3 separate regions of the Homo sapiens genome follow, and all the other regions are linked to region 3. Evidence: promoter capture Hi-C in 16 types of primary human blood cells and fetal thymus (Javierre and others, 2016). All regions are on one chromosome and are shown on one strand. The core of a region is centred on a gene start or on the middle of the fragment in contact, and the rest is flanking DNA. Distances in the headings are between cores, read along the strand shown.

Region 1 (3,685 bases), core at 328-2,827, 110 kb after region 3:
GATTCTCCTGCCTCAGCCTCCTGAGTAGCTGGGATTACAGGTGCACGCCACCACACCCGGCTAATTATTTTCTGTTTGTTGTTGTTGTTGTTGTTGTTGTTGTTTGGTTTTATTTTAGAGACAGTGTCTCACTCTGTCACTCAGGCTGGAGTGCAGTGGTGCGATCTCAGCTCACTGTACAACCATTGCTTCCCCGGGCTCAAGCAATTCTCCAGCCTCAACCTCCCAAGTAGCTGGGACCACAGGCTTGAGCACCACACCTGGCTAATTTTTGTATTTTTTGTAGAGATGGGGTTTCACCATGTTGCCCCGGCTGGTCTTAAACTCCTGGGCTCAAAGCGATCTGCCCATCTTAGCCTCCCAAAGTGCTGGGATTACAGGTGTGGGCCGCTGTGCCTGTCCTGTCCTTTCTTTACCTATTGGCATTCCCAATCCAAGGCCAACGTCCTTGGGTTCCAGAAGCTGGGTTCTTGGGGTGAACTGTGAAGGAGCTCTGAATTTTGCCTGAACTGAGCCTGAGTAGAACTGGGCCAGTTGCCAGCTCTCGGTGCAGTTATGCAAAGCCTGGTCCTGGGTTACAGGCTTTGAGAAGGCAGAGCATCACCACTATTATATGGGCAAGTTCTGCAGCCCAGGAGAGGCTCAGATTTGCTGAAGCTGCACAGCTCTTCTGAGGTCTCCACTGCGACTGTGAAATGTACCAGTCTTGTAAGTGTTGCTTTTAGCACATATAGTTCTTACCTCCAAGTATAGGTCTTACCTCCTAGCAAACTGTGGCCCCCAGGCCAAATCTGGCTTGCTATTTTTCCATGACCTGTGAGTTAAGAATGCATTCAGATGTTTTTAAATGGTTGGAAATAAATCAAAAGAAGAATAATATTTTGTGGTACGTGAAAATTATATGAAATTCAAATTTCAGTGTCCATAAAGTTTTCTTGAAATACAGCCATTCCTGTTTGTTTACAGATTGTCAGTGCCGGCTCTCATGCAACAAAAGCGGAATTGAGTCTGTGTCTGAAGTACTCACTCTCTAGCCCTTCACAGAGAAAGTTTGCCACCCTGTCCTGGTCTGAAGGATTAGTTGGTGGCATGATTGAAGGACATGAGCTGTAATGGAATTTGCACAAATGTTTGCTAGTGTTTGGTTGTGACTTTACTAGAGCCTCTTAGCACCAGCTTCTTGAGACGCCAGAAGCAACTAATTTTTCTGCTTTTCTTGCAGCAAAAAGTTGTGAACACACAGTGTGGATATGATGTCAGGATTCAGGTGAGAACTCCCATGTATACAACTTGAAGAGTTCTTTAGGTTTTATTCCCTGTGGTTCAACATTCTGATTTAGCACGAGTGCAAATTGAAGTGGGAAAACTCAGGGCAGTGAAGCTCTTGATGCCACCTAAGCTGAGCATAGGCACAGGGTCACATACACTGCTTCCTGAGCTGGCGGCAGGACTCCTGGGAGCAGTAATGGTGATTCTAAGCCTTGTGAGCTGCAGTCCCAACATCTAGGAGTTGCTGCATTTAAAGAGGTGGGATGGAAGTTTTGAGGGACAAAGACTGCATTTTTAGGAGGCTCCTTGGCATCCCAGAAGACGTCTCTCGTTAAGGGGACAGCTGCAGGAGTGTAGGTGCCTTGTTCTGGCCTCCGTGTGGAGGCAGTAGTGACAAAGAGGGAGGCAGGCCTGGGGCAGGGGCGAGGCTCTGTCCTCCAGGACTTCCTTTAGGCTGTAGGGAGTGTGCTCTTAGATGCAAAGAGAAGGAAGACCCCACCCCACTCCAGTCCTTGTTCTAGTGGTCTTTGGTGATATGAATGACTGCTGTTCTAAAAGGGAGGAGTCTCGAGGAATCTTCAGAGACCCCACCTGTTAGCCGTGGATATGAGGGATGTGTCCCTACAGCTTGGGGAACTGTCCTCCTTTAGGGACCTGCATTTCACAGGGAGAAAGTGCTGTAAACTGAATGTGTGTGTCTCTCCAAAATTCACATGTTGGAACTTAAACTCCAATGTGATGGTATTTAAGAGGTGGGGTCTTGGGGAGGGGATTGGGTCATGAGGGCAGAGTCCTTATGAGTGGGATGAGTGTCCTTATGTAAGAGGCCCAGAGAGCTTATTTGTCACTCCACTGTGTGAAGACACAGTGAGAGGGTGCCATCCATGAACCAGAAAGTGGGCCCTCATCCGACACTGAATTTGCCAGTGTCCTGATCTTGAACTTCCCGGCCTCCAGGACTGTGAGAAATAAATTTCTGTTGTTTATAAGCCACCTAATCTATAGTATTTTATTCTAGTTGCCTGAATGGACTAAGATAAGAACCTATATCAACATCAGCTTCCCTAATTATGATTTTTTTTGCCACTTATATTAATTTGCTAAGGCTGCTGTCACAACATACCACAGACAGAAATTTAAGCCACAGCAGGCATTTATTTTCTCACAGTTTGGAGGCTAGAAGTCCAAGATCAAGGTGCTGGCGAGGTGAGGTGGGTGCCTTCAGAGGGCTGTGATGGAAGGGTCTGTTCCAGGCCTCTCTCCTGGCTGCAGGTGGCTGTCCTCTCCCTGTGTCCTCACGTGGGCTCCCCTCTGTGCATGTCTGTGTCCTGATCTCCTCCTCTTAGCAGGATGCTCTTCATATTGGATTAGGGGGCACCCTGATGGCCTCATTTTAGCATAATTACCTCTGTAAAGAGCCTGTCTACAAATACAGTCACCTTCTGAAGTCCTGGGGGTTAGGACTTCAGTGTATGGATTTTGAGGACACAATTTAGCTCCTAACACCTCTAAAATTAGGGGCTAATACTCCATCATGTTGCCATGGAGGAGGCTGATAGGTGTGAGGGGGCTGGGGCCGATTGCCCTGTGTGGGGTGGGCAGGGCTGGGGTGTGTGCTGGGATGGTTACTGACACCCCACCGGGGTTAGCAGTGGAGGGAGCTGGTTGGCTGGCGACTGTTGCCTGCTGGCTCTGTCTCCTGGAGCTGAGCTTACTGGTGGGATGCCCGCTCCGAGAAGCACCCTTCTTCTCTTCTTAGGAGACTCTGGACCCCCTTCTCCAGGTTTCTCTCCCTTTAGAGGCACATTTTCCTCCAAGCCTTCAAGCCCCTTCTCTTTCTCCAGATGTGGATGGTGGGGAAGGGTATCTTGAGAAAGTTGGGCTTTAAATCTCTGGAGACCTGAAAGGAAACAGCCAGGGAGCCTTTGGTCAGACAGGTGGTGCGATGGCACAGTGCCCAGCGAGGGGCAGAGGCTGAGAGGAGCTGACGAGCATCTCCTGGAGAGTCCTCCTTGCCTGCCTCCTGGATCCCTCGTTCCCACCCTGCTTTGCCCTGCTCCTTACCAGAGCTCACTAGGGGATCAGGTGGGGACATCGTGTGTGCCAAAGGCTCAGACCCCTGTGGTGTTTTCCTGCAGCTGAAGAGCAAGTGGGATGAGTCCATCTTCACGAAAGGCTGCATCCAGGCGCTGGAAAGCTGGCTCCCGCGGAACATTTACATTGTGGCTGGCGTCTTCATCGCCATCTCGCTGTTGCAGGTGTGTCCCAGGAGCCTATAGGATTGGCAGGTGGCCTTTTTTCATTTGAGATTGGGCCCTTAACATAGAGTGCATGGGTCCAGTTTGGGTATGGTATTAAGGAAGCTTGCAGAAGAAAAAAAGGGATTCAACTGGATGTCCAAGGCTGAGAGAGTGTA
Region 2 (4,055 bases), core at 521-3,020, 87 kb after region 3:
TCCAACAATTCCACTTCTGGGTATAACCAATAGAGCTGAAAGCAGGATCTCGAAGAGATATTTGTACACCTATGTGCACATTCATAGCAGCATTATTTACAGTTGCCAAAAGGTAGAAACAACCAAAGTGTCCATAGATGATTGAGTGGATAACCAAATGTGATATACAGATGTGAAAGAGCTTAAAAAGGAAGGCAGTTCTGTCACATGCTACAGCATGGGTAAACCTTGAGTACATAGTGCTGAGTGAGATAAGCTAGATGCAAAAAGACAAACACTGTATAATTCCACTTATATGAGGTGCCCACAGTAGTCAGAATCATAGAGACAGGAAGTAGAATGTTGGTTGCTAGGAGCCCGGGAAGGGAAGATTGGGGAGTTGTTGGTTAGTGGGTACAGAAGATCTCACTTTGATGTGCAGAGGAAGGGAAGCTGGGAGAGGCGTACACTGGAGGAGTGGCATCTGGCTCTTTGTCTTTGTTCATTTATACCCCCCACTGGTTCCACAAAGCACTTGGACTTTTCTAAGTTTGCCGAGTGAATCCTCTAGAGGGATGATTCCGATAATGTCTGCAACTCCAGGGTTGGTTTCCAACACAAGCATTGGCTTTAATCTGCATGCAGAGGTTGGATGAAGTCCTTGCCTGGATCTGCTTCAGAGATGGATTAAAAGTGAAGAACTGAGACCCTTTCTAAATAGACTGTAGGCCTGTGTTACACAGGAAAGTCCTTTGCTTGCCTTTAGTTTAAAAAAATTTTTTTTAAATGACATTCTGCCATTGGCTTTCTCAGTGACTTGGGTCTGTTTGAGCCTACCCTTGTAAAATGTGTGAATTCACCTCTGCGCAGCCTGTTTCTGAGTGAGATGAGAGCCATGGACATCTGTGCTCTGTGACCAGCATGGCTTAAGGCCTATTCCTTCAAAGTCACAGATGCCTCCTGTGAGTAGGGCGAACATGTAATCTGTGGTTCAACTTTTGACAGTAAGAGAATTTTGAGAGAGTCTTGCGAATTTTGCCAGAACAACAGGTGTACCCCAGGCCTCTCCTGTGCAAACCTGGGCATGTGGCCACCCTGCACAAGAAAGGGAAGACAAGCCCAAGGTGGAAAGATCAACTCTCTTCCCTTACCTCTGTGTAGGGCATCTTTGCAGGTGGGGTCTTATTCTCTTCCTCTGACTTTTATTATGCTCCTCTTTATAGAGGACTTGCCACCTCCCAGGATAGTCTGCTGTTCCTGGGCTCTTCTGACTGATGGAAAATTGCCCTTATTTGAGCTGAACTCTGCTCCTTTGATATCAGACCCCAAGGCCTGATCCCTAGATCTTCAGACAAATGATTTCTTCATTTCCATCTCAGTAATGCAGTCAAAAGGGAAAAGTCTAGTGTTTTAATAATGTATATAGTGTATTTTTGTTTTCACTGCTGGGAAGATGTCCCTTTTTCTCTTCAGGTAGTATTTAATCAACTTTTGTAATTTCGTGGAAATTCATAAAGGCTAAACAAGGCATCCCAGGTTTACTGCATTTCCTCTTCCATGCCCCAGCGTCCTGTCTGCAGGCACACAGTTTCATATCCTGTGAGTAGTATCCTTGCAGTCTTAAGATACGCATTTTCACATCAGCATCTGCTAATATAGAACATCTACTAATATAGAACATTCCAGGTTGCAACATTATCTTTCCAATTGTATTTTTAGAAATTCCCATATTGGACATTTAGGTTGTTTCCAATTTTTTTGCTATCCTAGATAAGGATGCAGTGATTAGTTTATGTAATACGCATTCTTCCCTTTAGGGAAGGGAGGGAAATTATTTGCTGAGATAGATTCCCAGGAGAGATTAATTGGGTCACAAGGTGTGTACATTGTTTTGACCTGCCTGAACATACAGTCAAAATCACATCCCCAGAACGACTGCCCCAATTCATAGGAAGTTGACTGTCTTTTGGCACTGTGTGTGTGTGTGTGTGTGTGTGTGTGTGTGTGTGTGTGTGTATGTACATGTGTGTATTTCATCATTTAGGCTTGCCAAGGCAGAGGGCAGGGATTGCTTAATCAGAAACTCCACTAGAACTTAAGGAGTGGCCTGTGGTGCTGATGCCTGCATGGCCTCAGCCCCTGATTTCCCCAACTTAGGCAAGTGTGAGGCTGGGACCACCAGTTGGGATTACTGAGGAAGGGATGTTCAAGGTGCTCTGAGATTATTGCCTGGCACACAGGACTGTTAAATGCTTGCACGTACTTTCAAGTCTTAAGTAGTTTGGTGTGCTTGTATAACTCTGCCTCCTTGGCTGGTAAATAATCAGCATGGCATAGTCTACAGGAGTGATTTTTCTTGTTTGTACTTTTTTTCTTTAATGGAAATCCTTTTTATAATGATCACTTCTGTTGATGTCTGATTTAGATAGAATAACATTTATTCATTTCAACTGTACAGTTCAGTGACAGCTGTACATGCCACATAATCACCATCATCACAATGAAGATATAAAACATTCCCATCACCCCAGAAACTTTCCTTGTGCCCCTACAGTCATGCCTGCCCCACCCTACCCCTTCCCTGGGTGATGGTTGTTCTGCCTCCTGTTGCTATAAATTAAACTCTTTGGTATCTGACTTTTTTTTAGTTAGGTGGTAGTGTCTCTGTTGTTTTTCTGTTTTTAATTACTTTTTAAAAATCTTTTGAAATAATTTCTTATTTTTTAATTGTACAATATACGTAACAGAACATTTGTTATTAAAACCATTTAAGTGTATAGTTCATTGGCGTTAAGTACATTCACATTCACCTTGATTGGTGTTCTTATTTTTATTATTTTTTCCTTTCTACTTGGGATTATTTTGCTTTTTCTTAGCTACTTAAACTGGAAGATTAGATCACTGATTTTTAGATTTTTTTCCTAATATAAATATTTGAAGCTGTACATTTTCTGCATCCCACACATTTTGATATGTTTTCACTTGATTTGGTAAAAATAGTTCGCATATGCATACTCTATGAACTGTGTCTCCTCCCACCTCCAGGCTGACTTCAAGAGTTTCTCCTTTTATTCTGGATTATAGCAATTTTATACATGCTGGTATAGTTGTCTTTGTGTTTATTCTGTTTGGGGTTCATTGGGCCTTTGAGATTTGTGGGTTTATAGTTTTCATCAGATTTGGAATATTTTAGCCATTATGTTTTCAAACGCACACCCTTTTTCTCCCCTTCCCTGTCCCATTTCCCTAGGACATTGTTTATCTAGGGCACAGAGGCTCGGTTTAGTTTTTTATTTTGTTGAGTGTTTTACCATTCTCCTTTAGTTTCCATAGCTTTGTCTTCAGCTTTACTGATCTTTTCTTCCATACTGTCTCATTGGCTGTTAAACCCATCTAGTGAAGTCTTCAATTCTAATATTGTAGTTTCTATTTCTAGTCGTTACATTTAGGTATTTTTTATGTCTCCAATTTCTTTCCTTATCTTATTTATATTTTCCTTTAAATTCCTGAACATATTTGCAATACTTGTTTTGAAGTTGTTGGGATTTCATCTTCTTTGTCATTCTTGTGTCTTCTATTTACTGAATTTTTTCTCTTATAGCTCACTTCTTTCCTTTTCTTGCCTATCTAGTAACTTTTGATTGGATATTAGTTATAGTTTTTCTACTAAGTATTCTTCCCTAACAGTATTAAGTCTTTTGTGTCTGACATCTTTCATTTAATATCATATGTGAGATTCATTCATGCAGTTATACGTAGTTGTAGATCATTTATTCTTGTTGTGTAATATTCTATTGTGGGGATATATAATTTGTGTTATTTACAGTTTTAGGCTATTAAGACCTGTTACAGTGATATAAAAACATACCAGTGTTGGAGACCTGAGTATAGGGTATCCCAGGCTTTGTGTGGCTGAGCAGGATGACATCCCATCTTTCCTCTCCAGGTCCAGATGGTTTTAGTGTGATAGTTTACAGCTGAGCTTTTCAGACTATGGCTTGCAGGCCAAACCTGGCCTTCCGCCTGTTTTTACACATACAATTTTATTGGAACACAGCCACACCCATTCATTTATG
Region 3 (3,679 bases), core at 395-2,894:
CTTAGATCCACCTCTCACGTTTTCTAAGTTTATTTCCACGCTGTCCCTGGGCCAGGCTCTAGGGTCCCAGAGGTGAAGTGGAGGAATTCACAGTTTGGTTGAGGAGAGACCCCCTTGAATAGATCAAGCTCCCCAAGTGTTGCTGTAAGTTTACATGGAACATGGAGTCTGAGTGGGAAGTCAGGGAGGTGAATCACGGAAGCCTTTGGACTTTGTACACCTGTGGGCAGCTCCCAGATGAAGGGGGGAAGGTGTTGCAGGCAAATGACCACCTTTGACGGGCGGACATCGGCCTGCTTTGCCACTTCACCTTATGCTGCCCTGTGACTGGTCTTTGCACTGTGTCACCGATATGTCTTTTTTTTTTTTTTTTGAGACGGAATCTCACTCTGTCACCCAGGCTGGAGTGTAGTGGCACCATCTCGGCTCACTGCAACCTCCACCTCCGGGGTTCAAGCTATTCTCCTGCCTCAGCCTCTTGAGTAGCTGGGACTACGGGTGCGCGCCACCACACCCGGCTAATTTTTGTATTTTTAGTAGAGACGAGGTTTTGCCATGTTGGTCAGGCTGGTCTCGAACTCCTGCCCTCAAGTGATCTGCCCGCCTTGGCTTCCCAAAGTGTTGGGATTACAGGCATGAGACACCGAGCCCGGCCAACCACTAATATGTATCGTGAGTCAGCTCTGCTGTCTCTGAAAGTCCAACCTCCTACTTTTTGTTTTTTGTTGTTAAGACAGGGTCTTTTTTTTGTTTTTTAAAGACAGGCTGGAGTGCAGTGGCGCGATCTGGGCTCACTGCAACCTCCGCCTCCCGGGTTCAAGCGATCCTCCCACCTCAGCTCCAGAGTAGCTGGAAATACAGGCACGCGCCACTATGCCTGGCTAGTTTTTGTTTTTTACGTAGAGATGGAGTCTTACTATGGTGCCCAGACTGGTCTTGAACTCCTGGGCTCAAGCGATCCTCCCAAAGCCCTGAGATTACAGGCGTGAGCCAGCGCGCCGGACACAACCTCCTACTTTCATGAAAGAGTGGGCACTTCCAACAGGAGGAGTAAGTGGATGAGCGGTGTGTGACACACCCGCCTCAGCGTCGCCCGGAGTCCGCAAGGCTGCGGCTCACCGTTCTCTGCCCCATAGCTGGCATTGTGGAGTGAAAGGGAACGTGGGTGGAGGATTGAGGTTGGAAATTCTGAATCTGTACATACAGCTTGAAGGGGCTCATCGAATGTGTCGGTCCTTTAGATTCCCCCTGCCCATGGAGGTTAAAAAAAAAAAAAAAACCTATCAAAAGAGCTATTCAAAACCAGGCTGAAGATTGGAAGGAAGTTGGCCAGCCTCGGCTGCAGGACAGGTGCTTCCAGGCTCCATTAGGGGTGTCCAGCGCCTTCTTTTGCCCTAGGCAGCGCCCTGAAGAACGCGTCGGGGCCTCGGTTCGCGGACTTGAGGAGTGGACCGACCGAGCGCTGTGCGTAAAAGGACCGCTGGGGCACACGCCCGAGCGCCACCGGAGCTAGGAGACCGCGGCCCGGAGGTCGGCGAGTCGGGGGCAGGCCCGGAGCTCCTCCCACGGGGGGCGGGGCGGGTCACATGGCGGTGGCGCGGTAGCGCGCGATGCAGCACAGGCTAGAGGCTGCGCAAGCGCGGGGCCCGCCCCTGGGACCCTCCGGGCCGGGCGGTTTGGCCCCTTAGCGCCCGGGCGTCGGGGCGGTAAAAGGCCGGCAGAAGGGAGGCACTTGAGGTAGGTGCTGCGCGCCGGGGCTCCGCGAGGCACGTGATGTCCGTAGGCGGGGCCTGCCGCGGCGTAGGTGGGGAAACTGAGGCAGTGCAGGGCCGGTAGGGTGGGTGCTGGGCTGGTGAGGCGCGCCCCTCGGGCCCGCGCCAACTTTCTTAGGAGCCGCCGCAGCGCTGGCGCTCCCTCCGAGGACGACGACCCTTCCGCCACCCTGCGTGGCGGCCGATGGAAAAACCCTGCGCCCAGACGTCGGAGAACGGAGACGGGGACCCGGCGCTGCTGCGGCGGGCTAGGGCCCCCTCTGTCCACGCCCGCAAGCCTTGAGTGACGCCGGTGGCGCCAACCTTCGCGAATTGTTGGGACAAAGAACAGAGGAGAGGGCCCTGCCCTGGAGCATGGGCCCGGGGGCCGCCCTGCTGGACCAGCCCCAGGTGCGGACCTGGCAGTCCTCGTCCTCGTCTCTGTGCCCGCTTAGGGTCGTGTCTTTTAAGAGGGCACGGTTTCTAGCGTTGTTCAGCGTTTCGGAGGCACCTGTTCCCCCTCTTTCCCAAGAGTCACAAACGCCTGACTTTAAATTGGGTAGAGCCCAGTTGTAAACTTAACAGCCCTGCTGAGGTCTAGGAATGAAAAGATGAACAATCTGCCCCCAGGGTTGTTGCTGGAGCGGGAGGTGAAGGCGCAGGTGGAGATGGTTAGAGGCAAAGGAAGGGAAGTCAAGGCCCAGCCGGTCCAGGGCTGTGGGAAGGAGGCACACCCGGGAGTCCACTGCCGGACCGGGGTTCCCAGCTGCTCCTGCGCCTCTTTTCCTTGCCACATCATGCTGTCTGCACAGCCCAGCAACCCAGAACTCAGCTTTTTTGTTTGTTTTATTTTAATGTATTTTCCTTTGAACCTGGCAGGTGGTTTTTCAAAAAGAAAATAATCAAGATTTGTTTTGAAAAGCATTGTGAAAAAGTCAGCTTGAATAGTCTTGAATGCTCCTGCTCGGGCCCAGCTTTGGAGAATGAGGATTGGGATTTCCACTGCAGACCCCGACTCGTTACCATACTCATTCATCAGAAAACTCTTCATTTTGTGTACAAATAACGTTTTGAGGGTAATCATTGCTCTAGAAATGAAGAATTATACATCGTATTTATTGCACTTTTTGTAAGGTACCTCACAAGGCACCTCCTATACATTTAATCCTTTGATTCTTGCAACTCTGTAGAAGGTAATTAAGGAAGCATTCCCATTTTACTGATGCAAAACAGTTCCTTGTCCAGGTTTATACAGCTTGCAAGAATTAAAGTTAGATATTATTCTTGGTGTGGGCCTTTCCTATATCCCCGTCTTTTATAAGAGCATGTCATTTAGTTGAGACCTTCTGCATTACTTCTGAAGGGGTACAAAAGACATTTCTGATGATTTTCTCATCTCGTGTCATTTAAATGGTGCTCAGAAAGTTTGGATAGGACTGGAACTCTAGGGCTCAAGCCCCAGGCTCTGTCCCTATCTAAGCAATAGGGCAGCTGTCCTGCCAGTTGGGTTCTTGCTTCTTTGTGAAATGTTGAGCAGAAGCTCCAAGTCTCTCTGCTGTGGCTTGTGTGGCAAGAACCATCCTGAGGTTCTGTGCAGAGAGCCAGCCTCACCTTTGAGCTCAGTGGCCTCTGGCACAGGGAAATTACAGCTGGGCAGTGTCCTTTGCCTTCTCTGGCACTGCTAGTGCAGGAGGCAGTGTTAGCTGCTACAGGAATAGCATGGAGCGGGCCTGCAGGCCAGAGGGGCTGAGACAAGCCAGTGTTCCCACCAGACCTAGAACGTTCACCAGAAAGCAGGCCTGCAGTGACACAGCTGCAGAAGTTCACTATTTTGTGCCTGTCCTGCTTCAGATATCCTGTCTTTATAGGGGCACGAGTGAATCTGAGCCCTGCAAAAGAGAGAAAGATAATGCTGCTTTGCCGTTTTC

The links. Contacts are between HindIII fragments. The CHiCAGO score rates a contact against its expected background, and 5 or more counts as called.
Region 1: a fragment that was not itself captured here is called in contact with the fragment with the promoter of PRXL2A in region 3 in 13 of 17 cell types (M2 macrophages, monocytes, naive CD8 T cells and 10 more); the score reaches 8.2 in M2 macrophages.
Region 2: a contact is called between a fragment that was not itself captured here and the fragment with the promoter of PRXL2A in region 3, in 4 of 17 cell types (M0 macrophages, M1 macrophages, fetal thymus and 1 more). The highest score is 5.9, in M0 macrophages.

Annotation. Positions count from the first base shown.
Region 1 is chr10:80,512,797-80,516,481 of GRCh38, forward strand. TSPAN14 (tetraspanin 14) reads left to right here. Exons shown (of 9, transcript NM_030927.4): 7 at 1,223-1,267; 8 at 3,408-3,527. Among named protein-coding and RNA genes, the nearest start is that of TSPAN14-AS1, 21 kb to the right of the region's middle. The HindIII fragment of the contact is 4,105 bases long and covers 1-3,630 here.
Region 2 is chr10:80,493,384-80,497,438 of GRCh38, forward strand. The region is part of intron 2 of TSPAN14 (tetraspanin 14); the gene reads left to right. Among named protein-coding and RNA genes, the nearest start is that of TSPAN14-AS1, 41 kb to the right of the region's middle. RefSeq lists an enhancer at 3,971-4,055. The HindIII fragment of the contact is 8,190 bases long and covers 1-4,055 here.
Region 3 is chr10:80,406,907-80,410,585 of GRCh38, forward strand. PRXL2A (peroxiredoxin like 2A) reads left to right here and starts at 1,645. Exons shown (of 6, transcript NM_032333.5): 1 at 1,645-1,737. RefSeq lists a silencer at 1,424-1,713 and enhancers at 1,999-2,592, 3,439-3,679. The HindIII fragment of the contact is 7,614 bases long and covers 1-3,679 here.